Regions from separate parts of the Homo sapiens genome. Here region 2 is linked to region 1. The links are contacts of gene promoters, found by promoter capture Hi-C in human tissues and cell types (Jung and others, 2019). All regions are on one chromosome and are shown on one strand. The core of a region is centred on a gene start or on the middle of the fragment in contact, and the rest is flanking DNA. Distances in the headings are between cores, read along the strand shown. Region 1 holds the start of ATP8B1 (ATPase phospholipid transporting 8B1). Region 2 overlaps NEDD4L (NEDD4 like E3 ubiquitin protein ligase).

The links. Contacts are between HindIII fragments. The study calls those that stand out against the background at their distance.
Region 2: a contact is called between a fragment that was not itself captured here and the fragment with the promoter of ATP8B1 in region 1, in 2 of the 25 tissues and cell types used here (heart left ventricle and pancreas).

What each region holds. Positions count from the first base shown.
Region 1 is chr18:57,801,487-57,804,575 of GRCh38, forward strand. ATP8B1 (ATPase phospholipid transporting 8B1) reads right to left here and starts at 1,829. Exons shown (of 28, transcript NM_001374385.1): 1 at 1,512-1,829. RefSeq lists an enhancer at 1,449-2,086. The HindIII fragment of the contact is 14,543 bases long and covers 1-3,089 here.
Region 2 is chr18:58,127,187-58,129,899 of GRCh38, forward strand. All of the region lies in intron 1 of NEDD4L (NEDD4 like E3 ubiquitin protein ligase), which reads left to right. Among named protein-coding and RNA genes, the nearest start is that of NEDD4L, 84 kb to the left of the region's middle. The HindIII fragment of the contact is 9,807 bases long and covers 1-2,713 here.

The sequences.
Region 1 (3,089 bases), core at 579-3,078:
GGCCCAGAATTAATGAACGGCATCTTAGGTCTAACACAAAAGTATTCCTTAGCGGACGAAAATTAGCGCTTCTACTTCACATTTGCTGTCGTGTCCCCCATATATACGGGCTCGTATTCACTATCCCTGGAGGCTTTATCACGCGTGGTTTTTTTTAGCTTTTGTTCCTGAAAGCAGTTAACCTTCATCGATAACCTACCGTGTGCCGGGTGATCTCCAAACATCCCACTAGTTTTTTCTTTTTTTAGTTTCCCATGGGTAGTGGCAAAATTTTGAAGGCAATGCAACCAGGAAGATGGGAGCGAATATTTTCTCACGCCAACAGGGAGGCCAGTTTCCGGGAGAGGAACTCGGCGGCGTCTGGAGCTACCCAGGAAGAGCTTGCAGCCCCCAAGGGCAGCGCGTGCAGGCCAAGGGGGTCGGGTAGGGTTGAGCGGGTACTCACCGGGCAGAAGCGCGGCCCAAGTCCTCCTTACTTCTGCGTGTCAATCCCCCTTCCCCAATTTGCATCCTTACTGCAATCCAGTCTCCCCCGTACAACCGTCACGGATCTGCGCTCCGAGCACCGCCCCCCCCCGCAACCAGCCACCAACCCCCGGCAGGGACCACAGGCACACGCCTCCGTCGGAAAAGTTGGGCAGACACTTCAGAACTTTTCTTTCACTTTGGGGAGAAGGAGGGAGTTGGAGAAGTGGGGGCGAGGGGTGTTAAAGCACTGGGCCATTCTCTGCAACATCTCCCCGCGCCCCCCAACAAGTTGCCCCTCCTCGTGCACACAGCGAGGTGACAGCGCAGGGCACCAAACTGCTGAGGGAAGGAGATGCCTGCAGCCATCTCAGCGGGGCTGGCGGACGCGACCCGACAGTCACCGGAAAAACAGTGGTGTCGGTCTTCCCCATCACCTCCCCTCCCCATCCCACAATAAAGCGCACGGAAGATGTCTGGGAGTACCTGGCCCTGCCACAGGAGCTGGGGAGGAGAGCGATCTCACCCCCTCCATCCCTCCCGGCAGGTGGGCCGCGGTCAGATACGTTTGGCCCGCAAGTCCTTTTCGGACACGTTGGCATCTGCTCCCAAAGAGCGCCCCAGCAGGACCCGGTCACCGGGGTCTTCCAGAGGGGCGGTAGCCACCGCACAGGAGCCAGCGGCATCCCCCAAGGAGCCGCAAGCCCTACCTGGCTTAACCCCCGGACATGTGTGTCGCTACCGATCGAAGAACCCAAACACCCCGAGATTTCCCTCCTCTAGGCAGGTGAAAACCCCACGGAACTCTCCGCAGCGCTGCCTGCCCAGCCGGCCGTGTCTCGCCGTCCCCGAGGCCTCGGGGGCTCCCAGCACCTCCACCCAAATCCCACCTGTGCGGGCTCGGGAGTCCGAGGGCGCTGACAGCTGCTGCCGCCGCATCCCGGATCTCCAAAGTGCGGCGGGAGCGGCCAGGGAACCTGCAGGACACCGCCGGGCCAAGGGGCTTGGGAAGGTCTGGGGGCCCCCGGCGCCGCACCCCTGCTTACCTGGCGTTCGCTGGGCCCCGGCTGGGGCATCCGCCTGGTGCGCGCCGCTCGGAGCGCTCGCTGCGCACCTGGCCGCTGCCGCCGCCCGCCCGGCCCCAGCCCTGGCCGCCGCGCTAGCGCTGCATGGCGCACGGGGGCTGGCCGGGGGCCCGGGGAAGCGTGTCTAGTTGGCGGCGGCACCTCCGGCTCTCGCGGCTCGCTAGTGGCTCCCCCGCCTTTCCCCGCCCCGCGTCCGTGCACCCTTCCTCTGCAGCCGCCCTTTTGCCTCCGCTCCGCCGGACCGGCCAAACTGGTTTCTCCGCTCGGGGAGGTGCCTCTGGTTTCCCTCCAGCAGCCGCGGCCGCCGAGCCTCGCTGGGGCTGGGGCTGGGGCTGGAGGCGGGCTCGGCCTTCTCCCCTCCCTTTTTCCCTCCCTAGGGCGGAGAGGGGCTGGACTGCAAGCCCCGGGGCGGCCCGAGGCGGCCCAGGTCCAGCTCCTGCCCCACGCCCTCCGTGCGTCCTGGAGTCAGGTGGGCACCCCTTTCAGTCTTCCGAGCCCAGCCTACGAGCCCTTGCCTCGCCCAGCCTGAGACCCAGTTGCTGCGGCTGCTCTTAGCTCCCCGGGGGCCGCACTCGCCACCACACCTCTCCAGCCCAGCGTCACTTTCCCGCTGCCCTTGGCTGGCTTGGCCGTCACCCCGGGTCGAGGACTGAGCCAGCCTGGAAAGCTGGCGGGGCCGCGGCGCGCCCGGGACCTGAGCTCCCTCGGTAAGGGGAGCTGTGTCCTCTTGATGCCAAGTCATGTTTGGGGACCGGTCACCGAATGCGCGTCAAAGTTCGCCGCGTGGAGGGTGAAGAAAGAGGCTGCGCCTCAAGACTTCCAGAAACGTATCCTGTGATTGCAGCCAGCAGGCTTTCTGCCGAGTCCAAACGCTATCGAGTTTTTTTGGGTTTGGAGTCAAAAGGAGTTAAGGTGCGGCCCGTGAACCACGCGGTGTAGGTGGAAATTTTGGACTCAGCGCCTCGTTGCTGGCTGGTGTCTGAGCGGGTGAATCGTGCCTCCCTGGCAGTATAGACATTACCCTCCTTCTTGAGTAGACTTTTGCCGCTCCCCGACTATGGACCGAGTCGTTGGGATAAGAATGGAGGAAAATCAAAGATCAGAGTTTGCTTAAAATGCAGTAGGGGAGCCAGGACTCCCACACGATTCCCAGTCACCTAGAGGCTCACATCTATGCCCAAGAGTCCAGACTCCCAACTGGGTCATCACAGAGGCTTCCTACAGGAGGCCGTGCTTGATGGGACTCAAAGATCCACAGCTTTAAGGATCAGAGTTGTGTAGAGAGGGTATTCAACGGGTGGCCAACTGGTAGAATCTTGTCTGATACCAACCCCGAGGCTGCTCTAGGCTTCTTTTTCATGAGTCAAACTTGATCTCTGACTAGGTGCTGGTCAGTCACTCAATCTATCCAGGCCTCAGTTTCCTCATTTGTAAAATGAGATTGGACCAGATGGTCTCTTCCAGCACTTATATTCTGAAGCTAACGACAGAACAAAGGTACCGATGCAAGAGAACATAGGGCCTGTTGGTGACACTGGT
Region 2 (2,713 bases), core at 150-2,649, 330 kb after region 1:
CCAGTTGAGCTTAAATAAAACAAATAGAAAGGTCCTCCGTGGTATTAGCCATATTGTAGGTGCTCCGTAGACACATGCGGCTAGTGGCTGCCCACAGGACGCTGCAGATGTGGACGTCCCCGTCATCACAGGACGACATTCTGTGGGCAGCGCTGTATTTGTTTACAAACACAATTCTTTGGCTGTGTGAAGGTTCAGGATGATACCTTTGCCATTATGATTCATTTATTCATTTCAGGCTGGACACGGTGGCCCACACCTGTAATCTCCACACTGGGAGGCCGAGGCGGGAAGATCGCTTGAGGCCAGGAGTTTGGGACCAGCCTGGGCAACATGGCGAAACCTCACCTTTATTTAAAAAAAAAAAAATCGGCCGGGTGCGGTGGCTCACACCTGTGATCCCAGCACTTTGGGAGGCCGAGGCAGGCGGATCACGAGGTCAGGAGATTGAGACCATCCTGGCCTAACACAGTGAAACCCCATCTCTACTAAAAAATACCAAAAATTAGCTGGGCGTGGTGGCAGGTGCTTGTAGTCCCAGCTACTCAGGAGGCTGAGGCAGGAGAATGGTGTGAACACGGGAGGCGGAGTTTGCAGTGAGCGGACATAGTGCCACTGCACTCCAGCCTGGGCCACAGAGTGAGACTCCGTCTCAAAAAAAAAAAAAAAAAAAGAATCAACATTTATTTATTTATTATTTATTTTTTTGAGACAGAGTCCTGCTTTGTCACCGAGGCTGGCACGATCTTGGCTCACTGCAAACCCCACCTCCCAGTTCAAGTGATTCTTGTGCCTCAGCCCAGTGCCACCATGCCCGGCTAATTTTTTTGTTTTGTTTTGTTTTGTTTTGCTTTGCTTTCCTTTGTTTTGTTTTGTTTGAGACAGGGTCTCACTCTGTCGCCCAGGCTGGAGTGCGATGGCACGATCTCGGCTCACTGCAACCTCCACCTCCTGGGTTCTAGTGATTCTCCTGCCTCAGCCTCCCAAGTGGCTGGGACTACAGGCTCCCGCCACTGCACCCGGCTCATTTTTGTATTTTTAGTAGAGATGGGGTTTCACCACATTGGCCAGGCTGGTCTCTAACTCCTGGCCTCAGGTGATCCACCCGCCTCGGCCTCCCAGCGTGCTCATTTATTTATTTTAGCATCCCTTCTTGTGCCTGGTTGTAAAGTTCTTCTTATCCCAGGAAACTTAATAGGTCAAAGAACCCTCCCCTTGAGGCAGTTTGGATGGGGCTGGCTGGGAATTGGTATGTCCAGCTGCCCATATCGTGGCCTCTGAGTCAATTATACAGGCATCTCGGCAACTTGAAGTTTTGAGTCCCAAAACAACAGATTCCATAGCATAAACAGTGCAACGTAAATCCTGTCCCTTGTCCCTCTTCCATTGGATACCCTTGTTTATGTTCTCTCTGGCAACTGCCTGTAGCAGGGACGGATGCTGGAAATCCTGGCGGGGCCACGTCTTCTGTGCTTTGTAGGCAGCTATGGCTGGATGGTGCTTGCTGTTTCTGTGTGTAAATGTTGGGATTTTTAAAAGCCCTTCCCCGCTTAATGCGTTGTGGTTGAGCAGCACATTTAAATGCCTGAAGTGTAAGATGAAGTCTCTTGGATGTAGAGGGCAGTGGTGGTTTTTATTTTTCCTGGTTGAACTTGGCCTTTGGATTGCTGACTGCGAGCTCACGGTACTGTTAATGATTTTCTACCTACAGTCACCTGCTGTGCTGAGCACATCAAATACAGTGCGGTTAGTTCCAAGCTATGAAGCGCCTGTCACGCATGTATAACAGGCAGACCTCATTAGGAGGGGGCCTTGCATAGGGGTCACATTTTCCAGCATTTGTTTTCAAAATGGAAATCCAGATCACGCATTTGAGATTAAAATAAAAAAAGCGGCCTGTGCTTTATCATTTTCTTTAACTTACATGCCTGCTGGTCCAGCCCAGATTGCTGATAGAGGAAGCCCTGAGAAAGTTGCCCAGCCAGTTGCCCGTGCTTCAAGACACAAAGGGCTGACTGAGGCATCCGTGCCTACCCTTGGCTGCTGCTGCTCAGCCTGCTTGCATCTCGTCTGTTTTCAGTTATCAGTGGTGTGAGAAAAACACAACGGTGGATTCAGAAGGAGAAACCAAGTCATCTGCATTTGGCCTCAGTGTGTGGACTGTCCTGAAATTTGAGTACAGATGTGTTCATGTCCTGGGATTAGATAAAAAGAGAGGAAACACACAGTGAATTCTTATGGTCTGTCATTTCAGTTGGCCATCTTCTGCCCCTCTGTTCTGGAAGCTTCTCCACTAAAATAGAGCACCCAACTTGGTTTTCTACTTGCTTTCTGGCCCATCTTGAGTTGGAGGAATCATGTGTTTCAGAACTCTTGCTGGTGGTGGGTGGGAGATCAACAAATGATTTCATTAAGCTGTGTGTTCTTAATAAACTTTGGGAAGATTTGTCGCAGAGAAACTCAGATAGGGACCTTGTGATCTCAGCAGTCATGGGTTTATCTTGTCCACACGCGTGGCTTCATTGGGATTTGGTTGGTTGCGATCCAGCAGAACTGTGGCGGTGTTGGGCTCTGTTGGGGTTTGGTTGTGAGCGGAACTGTGGTGTTGGGCTCTGTTGGGGTTTGGTTGACTGTGATCTAGTGGAACTGTGGTGGTGTTGGGCTCTGTTGGGGTTTGGTTGACTGTGATCTAGTGGAACTGTGGCTGTGTTGG